Regions from separate parts of the Homo sapiens genome. Here region 1 is linked to region 2. The links are contacts of gene promoters, found by promoter capture Hi-C in blood cells and fetal thymus (Javierre and others, 2016). All regions are on one chromosome and are shown on one strand. Each heading gives the region's core, a stretch centred on a gene start or on the middle of the fragment in contact. The rest is flanking DNA. Distances are from core to core; before and after follow the strand shown.

Region 1 (5,913 bases), core at 3,286-5,785, 310 kb after region 2:
TGGAGTTGGGTTCTTTTTCATTCTCTCTGCCTGGTCCTCCTTTTCTAAACCCCGGGCTCAGCTCGTGCTGAAACAGCTATGGAGTAACCAGAGTGGAAGCTGGCATGGAGGGCTCTGTGGAGATTGTTATCCTTCAGGCTTTTCTAGCAGCTGGCCCCAGTGCCCAGCCCTTGCCCCTCTCCTGGGACCCACCCTGGTTTCTTAACAGGAGAAGGGGAAGATTGACCCATGAAAGGCATCCTGGAGTGTTCCACCTGGATTGGGGGATCTTCCCCACACCATGGCAAAAAGCAGCTCAACCCCATTCCCCATGCAAAGGGGAGAGCTGAGCTCTGGCCTTCACGGCCCTGCTGCTGCCTCCTGGGGAGGAGGGGGACAGGGCCACACCACGCTGTTGGACTTGCACCCAGGTGGAGAGGCAGCTTTTCCCATAGCTGTCAAATGGGAGACAGTCAAGGGAGCTGCTTTGTTTAATTTAGATCCTAAGTTAATACATATGGCTCCCAATTAATAGTACGTGTCAACAGTTATAAAATGCTTAATACATTACTGGGATAGCCTAGTCAATTATTTACCTTGTCTTCTTCCCAGAAAGTGTTTGAGCAGCCAGTTAAAAGCTTAAGTGAACTTTTAAAAATGGATAGTCCTCATTAAAAATAGTCCTGTTTCATTGTGGTGGAAATACGTAATTATTCTGTTATTCCCTGTTCTTTTGGGTGTTTTTAAGATGTATTTTTAAATGACAGTCCTTTATTTTAACAGTATATTATTTCTTTCTTTTTTTTCTTTTTTTTTTTTTTGAGACGGAGTCTTGCTCTGTTGCCCAGGCTGGAGTGCAGTGGCACCATCTCGGCTCACTGCAACCTCTGCCTCCCAGGTTCAAGCGATTCTCCTGTCTCAGCCTCCTGGGTAGCTGGGACTACAGGCACCTGCCACTACGCCCGGCTGATTTTTTTTATTTTTAGTAGAGACTGGGTTTCACCGTATTAGCCAGGATGGTCTCGATCTCCTGACCTTGTGATCTGTCCATCTCGGCCTCCCAAAGTGCTGGGATTACAGGCGTGAGCCACTGCACCCAGCCATTATTTCATATTTTTATCTAACAGATGTTTATGTCCCAGGCACTGTGTTGGAGGCAGTGGTTGAACAGCATAGATGTACGGCTCCTGCCACCGTGGGACTGAGACTGGTGAGGGCAGCAGGCCGGCAGTAGAGGTTAGGATGAGTCCTGGGAAGGGAGGAAGGTGTGCTGGAGGTTAGCAGAGGGTGGGGACAGAGCAAGGGCAGCCATGTGCAAGGAGTAGTGAGCTGGACGGTGGCCCCCAGGCAGGATCCAGAACCACTGTAATAAGGAATTTGAATTTTTCAGCTATGTGGAAAAACCTGAGACAAGAGTATTTATAAATACACAAAGACTTGTTAGAGTAAATTATTTTAAGATTCCTCTCAAAAATTCTAACAATAGCCTGTTTGCTGCCACCCTTGAGTTCATGATACGCCTCCAAAAAAATCAGCTTTCCTCTAGGCAGCAGGGCTGCAGCCTGGGGCCAAGCCTTTCCCGCCCCCTCCAGCAGCCTCGCTTCTAGGCTAACCCTCGCCTAGGCATACCTGCAACTTTTGAGAAAGCTCTTTTTGACTTGGAAATAAGGAAGCCTCAAAGGAAGACTTAGCATCTTTGAAAGCCAGTAAAGCTGAAGCTGTGAGCTTCAAGGTCTAAGCTGAGAGTGAATGAAGGCTGGTGACTCCCCAGCCTGTCGTGTATTTATGTTCTTTGGACCCAGAGTTGGAAAAACCTGGGTCTGGGGGTCAGACCCCTGGGAATGAGCTCCGTAGCATACCAGTTACGTGACCTCAAGAAAGTCACAGAACCTCTCCAAGCCTTAGTTTCTGCATCTACAAGATGGGGCCTCTCTTGCAGGGTGATTTTGAACATATGATGGAAGAAATTATGCAGGTACCTTGAAAACCATAAGCATGGTTCCAGTGTGAAGTGTTTTCATAGCCAATGTGCCTCTAGCATTTTAAGTCACAGATCTAGGTCTTTCCATGGGTCCTAAACTTCAGATTTTTGTGCCCCAAAATAATGCATTGATGTTTGACATTTTGCCAGGTTCTAGAAAGCCCTGCCCTTGGCCCCAGCTGTGAGCTGCAGAGCTCAGTGAGACCCTTTTTAATCTTCCCCCAGGCCCAGCCCTGGCCTTGCTTCCATGAGCAGACCAGCCTCCGAATCTCTGAGCCACCAAGGCTGCGTGTGGAATGGGGCTGTCAGAGCTGCTATGAATCACCCTGGAGCTGTCTAGAGGACAGTCCAGGTTCTTACCCTGCCCAGGAATTCCAGATTGAGCCAAACCAGCTCAGTCAAGTGAGACTCCCAGGGGACCTGTGATAGGAGCCGGCAGGAACCTCTCAGGATTAGAGCGATTAAGAACAAAGCTTTGGAGGCACCAAGCACTGGGGTCGAATTGCATTTCTGGCACCACTTGCTGGCTGTTGGTCCTCACCATGGTCACTCCTTCTCTGACCCTCGTGTGTGACAGTGGAGTCACAGGAGCCCTTCACATAGGGCTGTGTTAGGGTTATAGGAGGTGACGTGCATAAATGCTGACACCTTAAAAGTGCTCAGCAAGCTGCCTTCCAGCAGGAGCTCATCTGGCCAGGTGGTAAATTTGGTGCCTCTGTTTTGTTCGGCCCACGTTTTGCAGAGTGGGATTATTCACTTAAAAGTCCCAGTTTTCTGACTTTTCTTAAGAATCAATTAATCTAACATCCTGGGCCGCATTCATCCATGGCTACATCCGGCAGGAGCTGAGTAGCAGCTGCCTCCCCAAGGGCTCCTCTCAGTTCTTGAGCTTGCAACTCCAAGGCAACTGCAGAGGCAGCTGATGAAAGTCTGAATATGGAAGCCAGCCATGTCTGTCTCGTCCCTGATGGGGTGTGCTGGGCTGTAGGATATGAAATGACTTTGCCCTTTTCCTCTAGGAGCTATGAAAGCACCCCTTAGGGAGGCAAAATTGTGCTGCAGTTGTGCTGCTCCTCCCCTCAACAGACAAGGAGAGAATAGGAAACCACATTGCCTTCTCATTGGAGGCACAGGCATCACAGTCAGGCAGCTTCGCAGCTAAGTTCTGACACAAGCTGTGTGACCTTTGGCAAGTTTCTTAACCTCTCGGGCTTATTTTCTGACCTATAAAGTCAGAATAATAATTGCCAATATCACTGTTGTTGTGCGGACTACACCATATGGTGACATGCTTATTTTAATGCCTGGCTTGAGGTAGGTGTTTTATACCTACCAGATTTCTTCCGGGGGACAACCAGGAAAAGGGTTATTTATAAACTGACTACTAGGATATCATTAAAACCAGAAGCTTTGAGGGGTATTTAAAACTTGTAGAAGACATAGCAAACGTTTAAGCTTTTAAGTGTCAAAAAATATCTATAAACAAATGCATATGTCTTGCTTCAGGTTATATTTTAACTTGTTTAAATTGTATTTCAGTTTTGAAACCTTTGATGTGAACAGCTTTGAACAATTTTGCATCAATTACGCTAATGAAAAACTGCAACAACAGTTTAACATGGTAGGTGACCTTTCTGCCTTCTTGACTAGTTCTCAGCCGCGCGCGCGCGCGTGTGTGTGTGTGTGTGTGTGTGTGTTCGTGGAAAGAGGCATTCTTCTTTCTTGAGGTTGCAAATTTTTATGCAAGGAGCCTCACGCTGGGTCACTGCACCACCTTGTGGCCAAATCTTGAAATCACACCCTCTCATCTATTTCATCTTTTTTGAATCACCTGCCAATGTGTGAGCCTCACTGCCCTTCTTGGATACAGACCCTCTGTGCAGCCAGACAAAACTATTTAGTTGGTTGCCTGAGGCCTCCACTTTCTTTCGAGCCTCTCTGTCTTTGCACTTGCTGCTTTCTCTGCCTTAACCCACGTGCTCCTGTTATTTCCCCATTGCTTTATCTTCACGTGGCCAACTCCAGCTTGTGTTTTGAGATCCAGCTTCCCTGAGAGCCTCCTGCGATACCTCCTGGCCTCTTCCTATGTGCTTCCTTATCGCAGGCCTGTCACATGGAATTATCATCATTTGCATGCAAGTTTCCAAATAGACTTGGTCACCTGGAGAGGCCAGGACTGGCATTCTTTGTCTCTCTCAGCCCAGTGCTTATCTCGGCACATGCAGCACTAAACAGCAGATGGCCAATGGATTATGGGAATGAGTTTCTCCAACCTTAATTTAGAACAAGACATATATGGTACCTTCCTAACTAACAATAAGATCAAATGTATCATCCCATGGAAACAGACAGGAGATGGATTCCAATTTTTTTTTTCCACTGGGAAGATTTGTTTATTCAAAAGACGTTTTTGAGTGTATACTGTGTATACCAGGTACCAAGTTAAGTGCTGAGGTAGAAAGATGAATAAAACAATTTAAAAAATGTTGAGTAAATGCTACTTGTGGCTGTTTGGGCATTTATTATTGCTATGTGTATTGAATACAATTTCAACCTCTTAAATCAGTTCCCTAGATGCAAGAACTTTATTGAATTCACTTTTGAATTCCCAACAGTACTGACGCCTTTCTGCTCCTAACAGAAGTCAATGAAATTAAAAGTTGATTGAACATCTTTCTACATTGGCCCTACCATGAAACTACTCTCATATTTTTTTTATAATTGCCTCCTTAACATTTATATTTGGCTCTGTTTCTGAAAAGCCATGAAAGCTAAAATGCTTTACTAACTCACATTTTCCCTTTAGCTTACATTCTAAACTTTGGCTACATGTTTATGGGAAGAATGGTGATTCCAGTTCATAATAGAAATCACACTTTAATACCCTAACAGTTACTCCAAGGAAAGGTTATACCTTTGTTAGTGTCCAGTCTTATGCTCCCTCAGAACCCCTGAGGAAAACATAGCATGACGTCTTGGAGAGTGTGGGCTTTGGCTCAAACTAAATTGGGTTTGAATCTCAGCTCTACCACCTCCCTCTGGGACCTTGGGTTCTCTGAGCCTCTGTTTCCTTGTTTTAAAAATGAGTCATCATTACACATTGTATGTATGTGTCAGAATATCACATGTACCACAAAACTATGTACAACTATTATGTATCAATTTAAAAAGAGTCAATAATAACTGTCTAATATTGTGAGAAGACCTAACATTGAATCCTACTCAGTAGAAGTTTCTTTTTTTTTTTTTGGCCCAGAATTAATTCATGTATAACCATTAAATTTCATTCCATTGTAAATTTCATTTCTTTAGCATTTGCAAGGCTCTCCTGGAAGTTTAACATTAATAACTACAGCTGAGGTTTATTCCAAGTGCATATTCAGTATAACTCACCTGAAGTCAAACTCTCTGTGGCTGCTACCCTGTTCCCTGGCTGCAATGGCGTGCTGCTCCCCAACATGTCCACCTTAACCTCAAAGTGACACTTATACCAGATGTCTTGCCAAAAATCACAAATCAGAGGCTGTAATTCTATTTTTTTTTTTTTGCTTTTGTTCTCCTCTCCTGTTCTTCTTCCTCTTCCACTTCCTCCTCCTTCTCTTCCTTTTTCCTCTTCTCCTTTTTCTGAGTCATCCATCAATGTGTAGATCCTCCCAGGAGGGGTAGTATCTTCAATTGTCAGCACAGAAAGCTTTGGGTAGGACTCTCCTGATCTCCAGTCCCCCTCTTCTGGCTGCCACTGGGCCTTGCACCTGATGCCCCCAGGGAGCTCAGCAGTAGCAAGTGTAGAAGTGCCGGTGCCACCTTCTCCTCTCAGCCCGCTTACCCTCCACGTGACTTTCTGTGGTCAAGTCACGCCATGGACCCCATGTCCTGAGCCTGACATTCATCCTGACCTCTTCGCTCCTCTTCCTCCTCCCTGAGTCCCAGCCATCAAGAGCATCGGGCTGAGT
Region 2 (5,951 bases), core at 656-3,155:
GATTCTTTTTATCCAAGGTCACATAGCCAATTTTAAAAAAAAGGCCAGATGTGGTGGCTCGCTCCTATAATCCCAGCACTTTGGGAGGCCGAGGCGGGTGGATCACTTGAGGCCGGGAGTTCGAGACCAGCCTGGACAACACGGCAAAACCCTGTCTCTACTAAAAATACAAAAAATTATCAGGGTGTGGTGGTGGGCAACTGTAATCCCAGCTACTTGGGAGGCAGAGGCAGGAGAATTGCTTGAACCCAGGAAGTGGAGGTTGCAGTGAGCCGAGATTGTGCCATTGCACTCCAGCCTGGGTGACAGAGTTGAGACTCTGTCTCAAAAAGAAAAAGAAAAAAAAGTTTTTTTTCTTTTTGTAGAGACAGAGATTTGCCATGTTGGCCAGGCTGGTCTTGAACTCCTGAGCTCGAGCGATTTGCCCGCCTTGGCCTCCCAAAGTGCTGGGATTACGAGTGAGCCACTGTGCCCAGCCACAGCCAATTTTCTTGAGGCTGAGTTTCATCATTAAGTGTATGTCTATCAGATTTTAACTCAAGTTCACAAATACATTGATATAGGACATATACTAGAACGTCAGTCAATTTATTAATAAAAATACAACTGTTAAATGCTTCAGTGGCCTAACTACTGCACTCTTCTTTCTCTCTGCAGTTCTGCTTAAGGGAAAGGCAAATTTTCAGTATGTTACTTTGTGAGTATAGAAGGAGAACAAATATGTCGTGGATCTTACAGTTTCTCAGCTAGCCCAGCGTGAGACATTCTTAAGGGATATCTTTGTCAAACAGTTGGCCTGTTGAACCCTTTTATTTTCAATACTTCCTTGGCTGACAAATGCCTTCCTTCGTTTCTCCAAAAGGAGTGCAATATTAACTCTTTTTGTTTTTCTAGTTGCAATTCCAGTGCAATTCTTCCTGTCTGAGATTCTACATCCTGGTTGAGTTTCGATGGTTTCCAAATTCCTTATCCAGGCATTTAGGGTCTTTCAATTGTTCCCCTGCCCCCAGAAATGCATTCATTTTCTGTGGCTTTTTACTAGTTTAACTTTTAGAGGGCAATCTTATTTCCAAGTTTCTGAGGGACACTTTGTTGGAACCAACAAACATTGCGAGTAACTATTCAGATATCAAGTAGAATGAGGATTCAGTAAGAAGCCGCAGGACTTGGCAAATAAAAAGGTCATTGGGGGAGCTCAATGCTAGCAGTTTCGGTAAGCTTGTGGGAGTGGACCCCCTGGGAGTGGACAAATGAATCTGAATTCCTTCGTTAGATATCTAGGAAGTGCTGGACCCTCAGAGTAAAATATAAGTAATTACAGACGAGATCCCTGCCCTGGTGCGGCTTATCTGAGAAGGAAAGGTGACCTAAAGTCACGACAATTGTGTAATGATACAGTTCATGTTGTTGAGGAACTGTACAGGGCTGTGACAGCCTTTAAGAGGTGGCTCTGGCCTAGTGTAGAGGTTTAGGAAGGAAAGGTTCTGAGGCAGAGACGTAGGACTGGAGATGTGAAGGCGTGGCAGAGTGGAGCAAGACTTTTGGCGTGCCCAAAAGACAGCCTGTGTGGCTACAGAGCGGAGAGCGAGGAGAACAGAACTAGGCGAGGATGGGTAAGTGGAAAGAGTAAAATAAAGCTCCTAGAACGAGGGGACCAGAGTGGACAGGAAAGGGCGGGGAGGGGCGGTTCCACTTAGAAACTACAATTCCCAGGAAGCACTCGGCAGCCACAAACGGATGTGAGGTGAGGCAGGAGCGGCGACCTTTGAAGGAAAAAAGGAAGTGTTTGGACGACAGCGAGCGGGAGAAGCGGGGTCAAGTAGGTAGGGGTGCGGTGCGGGAGGGGCAGGCGGGCTCCGGCGTGCGAGGGCCTTGGCCAGCGGAGCGTTTCGCGGCTCCGTGTCGTCATAAGGCGGCGGCCATTTTCGCGGGCGGAGGCGGCCCGGCGGGCCCTGGGAGAGCTGGGACGGGCGGCGGCCGGGTGGCCTCGGCCACCCGCTAATTGCATCTTTTCCCGGCGTCTCGTCTGCAGAGGGAGCACTATGTCTGCGGAAGTCCCCGAGGCAGCCTCCGCGGAGGAGCAGAAGGTGAGCGCGCGGGGCGTGAGCCCTGGGCCCTGCCCAAGGCCGGGTCTGGCGGGCGGCCTGCTCCCGCCAGGCGGAGGGCCGCGCCCGAGATGCGGGGCCGAGGCGCATGAGGCCGAGGCTCCTGCGCCCCACCTTTGGCTTCCCGCCGTCGCTGGCTGGTGCGCCGACGAATTGGGAGTTCCAACGTGCCCCGCGTTTACTCCGAATCGTGCCTTTTGTAACACCTCCGTGGGTCGCGGTGTTCCTCAGTCACTTATATTTACGCGAGAGCCCAGGACGCAGGCTTTGGGCGTAGAGCCTAAGTTTTTCTGTAAGCCTCAATTTGGTTAGGAAGTTTTATTTTTTCCTTTGAAGAACTCTCCAACTACTTGTATTGTGAGCGTGCGGTTCACTCCAAAAGCAGTGCCTCGTGTGCGGGCCGCGATGTGGGCCAGGATTGGCATTTCAGGGCCAACCCTTGTAACCATGGTCAGTGAGTAAAGTCCGGCCTTCAGTGTCTTCACCTGTAAAGGCCGAATACTGGTGCTTGCCTCCCACGGCGGGGTGAGGCCTAGAGGAGGTGAGTCAGGTGTAGTGTGCAGCGCAGTCTGTGCTCAAAAAGGTTTCAGTCGATGGGACTCAAATATGGTACTTGACTAAAAATCGAAAGGGTGGAATTTTAAAATTTTACTCACGAAATTAATCAGGGTTTTATTGGAAACAGGAATATTTTGTAAACGCCCTTGTGTCTTCCTGATGTAGGGGAATAGGCCGGGAGTGTCACTGTGGTTCAAATTATGAATATCAAGCCTTTGTATTTATCTAGGCTGGTGTTTGTCTCTCCCACTGTAATTATTTCCACCGCCCTGCCCTCCTAGGCAGGTGTGACTGGCCGAGAAGTGAGAAAGGGCCGAGGTATCTTGTCTCCTAAATTGTTTATCAACAATTTTTCTTACAAATCAGGTTGTGTTGCCGTTAAATACGATTTTGGTCTACTGCTTGACCTTCGTGCGGGTTTCTGCTTAATGTTGCACTTATGTCCTAATTAAGTTGGGAATTGGATTAGTGTTCTAAGCCCATTCCATATGTTCTTAAAACCGTGTTAACTTTTCTTAAGTTGGGTGCTTCTGTTAGGATGTTAAAGTAATTGAAAAACAAGAAAACATATAGCATAGGTAAAAGTCCAAGTTACCACATTATTTGAGAATATCCCGTGAAAATAGATATATTTACGCATTACCAAAAAAATGGATTTTGGGGGCAAAAATACAAATATTAAAGTTTGCAATCTTAACAGTATTATTAAGTATCACCTGCTTATTGTAAAATGCGTATTGTGTTCATTATTGCTTGAAATTTAGGAGCCCCCAAAAATAACAAGTCCCTGTCTGTGGTGGTTTGCCTTAAACACTTACATCAAACTTAGCATTAACTTCTGGTGCACAGTAGTGTGCTATGTAATTTTCTTTGATAAGTTCTGTTAGTATGTTGCCAAAGTATGCAGTATTGACTTCTAGAGTGTAAATACTTTTACTTGGAAAAGCCTAATGTATCTTTTAACAATATTAAGGATAGCTTGAACGTTTTCTCTTATTGATTGTCTACATTAAACATTTAAGGTGCTTTGGTTTTAGCTGCTGTCATTAAAATCAACCAAAGTGTGTTAGGAATATAATGTTCCTTCTTAAATTGAGGATTGGCTGTAAATGCTAAGTGCCTGTGGCGTGGATGGTGTCCCTAACCATGAAGAAAATGTGCACAGTCACTTCTGTGTTCCTGTGGGCCAAATCACCTGTTTCTTCTATTTGGAAGATCAGTTCGATGACCTAAAAAATTAAGTTATTGTCTGTGTACCCAATTGACCTTCCACTTAAAGCCAAAGTATTCAGCTAAAAATACCTTTATAGTTTACTGGTAGGTTGCCTGTTGCCGCTAAAGAATTAAGGTAGATAGCTGGGCCTTGCATGGAGTAAAAGCTAAGTCACTTTCTCTATCTTGAGTGGTGTGTGCACCCTTGGTAAGAGAAGAAAACCAGATAGATTCCTGTCTTGTATTAGGAAACAATATGTACAAACATAAAAAATAAGTATAAACTCTTATCTCTTAACTTGTATACCACTCTAAGACTAAAACAGCCAGGCGTGGTGGCTCTTGCCTATAATTCTGGCACTTTGGGAGGCTGAGGCAGGAGGATTGCTTGAGGCCAGGAGTTTGAGACCAGCCTGGTCAACATAGTAAGATTCTGTCTCTACAAAATAAAATAAAATAAAATAAAAATTAGCCAGGTGTGGTGGCATGTCTGTAGGCCTGTAGTCCCAGCTACTTGGGAGGCTGAGGTGGGAGGATCACTTGAGACCAGGAGTTCGAGGCTACAGTGAGCTACTTTTAAAATATTTTTTAAAAATTTAAAAGGCCTGTGCTGTGGCTCACAGCTGTAATCCCAGCACTTTGGGAGGTCATGGCGAGTGGATCACTTGAAGCCAGGAGTTGAAGACCAGCCTGGCCAACACGGTGAAACCCTGTCTTTACTAAAAGTACAAAAACTAGCCAGGCATGGTGGCCCACACCTATAATCCCAGCTACTCGGGAGACTGAGGCATAAGAATTGCTTGAACCCAGGAGGCAGAGGTTGCAGTGAGCTGAGATCATACCACTGTACTCCTGCCTGGGCAACAGAACAAGATTCTGTGTCAGAAAATAAATAAAATAAAATTTGGCCGGGCACGGTGGCTCACACCTGTAATCCCAGCGCTTTGGGAGGCCGAGGCTGGCGGATCATGAGGTCAGGAGTTCGATACCAGCCTGGCCAATATGGGGAAACCCCCTCTCTACTAAAAAATACAAAAATTATCCGGGTGTGGTGGCACGCACCTGTAGTTCCAGCTACTCAGGAGGCTGAGGCAGGAGAATTGCTTGAACCTGGGAGGCGGAGGGTGCAGTTAGCCGAGATCGTGCCACTGCACTCTAGCCTGGGCAACAGAGTGAGACTGCATCTCAAAAAAATAAAATAAAATTTAAACTAAAACAGATTAAATACAACAAAGCCAGTCTAAATTTTTGATTGTGTGCTTGGTATTTTGCTGAAACTAAATTTCCAATGTATTTGGAATATGGCAGCAATTGTTAAAAGTTGAGGGAGTTTTTGAGTTTGTCAAGTAAACACTCCCCTAGGCCATGTGGTGGCTCAGTTCCCCTTTTAAGAGTAAACTATGAGGTCACTAAGTTTCCAGAGTCATAGATACAATCACATTTTAAGTTCAGCTCCATTCTTTTCTCATTTTCTTGGACAGTTGGAGTAACCTGCTGAGTCTTTGTCAAAGAAAGCTCAGATGCAGAACCCACATAGCACTACTTAGATGCAACGTGGTGATTCAGATTCCCCAGAATATGCTTATATTTGCCTTTGAGATAACCACTGAAGTGAAAACAAAACATTTAAAAGTTTTGAGTACAGATCTCATGAATCTATCAGCAGTAAGCTAAGGCATGTGTACTAGTCCTGGAGGGGAGAAGAGGCAAGTGGAAACTTAAAACAGATAATTCTGGCCCTACAGGGTGGCTCTTGCCTGTAATCCCAGCACTTTGGGAAGCCAAGGTGGGAAGATCGCTTGAGGCCAGGAGTTTGAGACCGGCCTGGGCAACATAGCAAAACCCCGTCTCTAAAATAATAAATCTACACCTGTAGTCCCACCTACTCCAGAGGCTGAGGGGAGGATCACTTGACCTCCAGGAGGTCAAAACCACAGGGACCTTTGATGGCACCACAGTGAGCTTTGATGGCGCCACTGGGTGACTGAGGGAGACCCTGTCTCAAAAAAAAAAAAAAAAAAGATGGTAATTTTAATTGCACTGTGAGCAGCTTATGCTCAGGGACCCTGGTTTATA

The links. Contacts are between HindIII fragments. The CHiCAGO score rates a contact against its expected background, and 5 or more counts as called.
Region 1: a contact is called between a fragment that was not itself captured here and the fragment with the promoter of ARPP19 in region 2, in 6 of 17 cell types (endothelial precursors, fetal thymus, M1 macrophages and 3 more). The highest score is 6.5, in endothelial precursors.

The regions. Positions count from the first base shown.
Region 1 is chr15:52,254,307-52,260,219 of GRCh38, reverse strand. MYO5C (myosin VC) reads left to right here. Exons shown (of 41, transcript NM_018728.4): 11 at 3,500-3,581. Among named protein-coding and RNA genes, the nearest start is that of MIR1266, 20 kb to the left of the region's middle. RefSeq lists enhancers at 1-20, 2,327-2,903. The HindIII fragment of the contact is 2,236 bases long and covers 3,418-5,653 here.
Region 2 is chr15:52,564,984-52,570,934 of GRCh38, reverse strand. It overlaps ARPP19 (cAMP regulated phosphoprotein 19), which reads left to right and starts at 1,905. Exons shown (of 3, transcript NM_006628.6): 1 at 1,905-2,087. The coding sequence starts at 2,043. RefSeq lists enhancers at 1,376-1,505, 1,559-2,305, 2,306-3,054 and silencers at 1,976-2,035, 2,106-2,205. The HindIII fragment of the contact is 6,860 bases long and covers 1,221-5,951 here.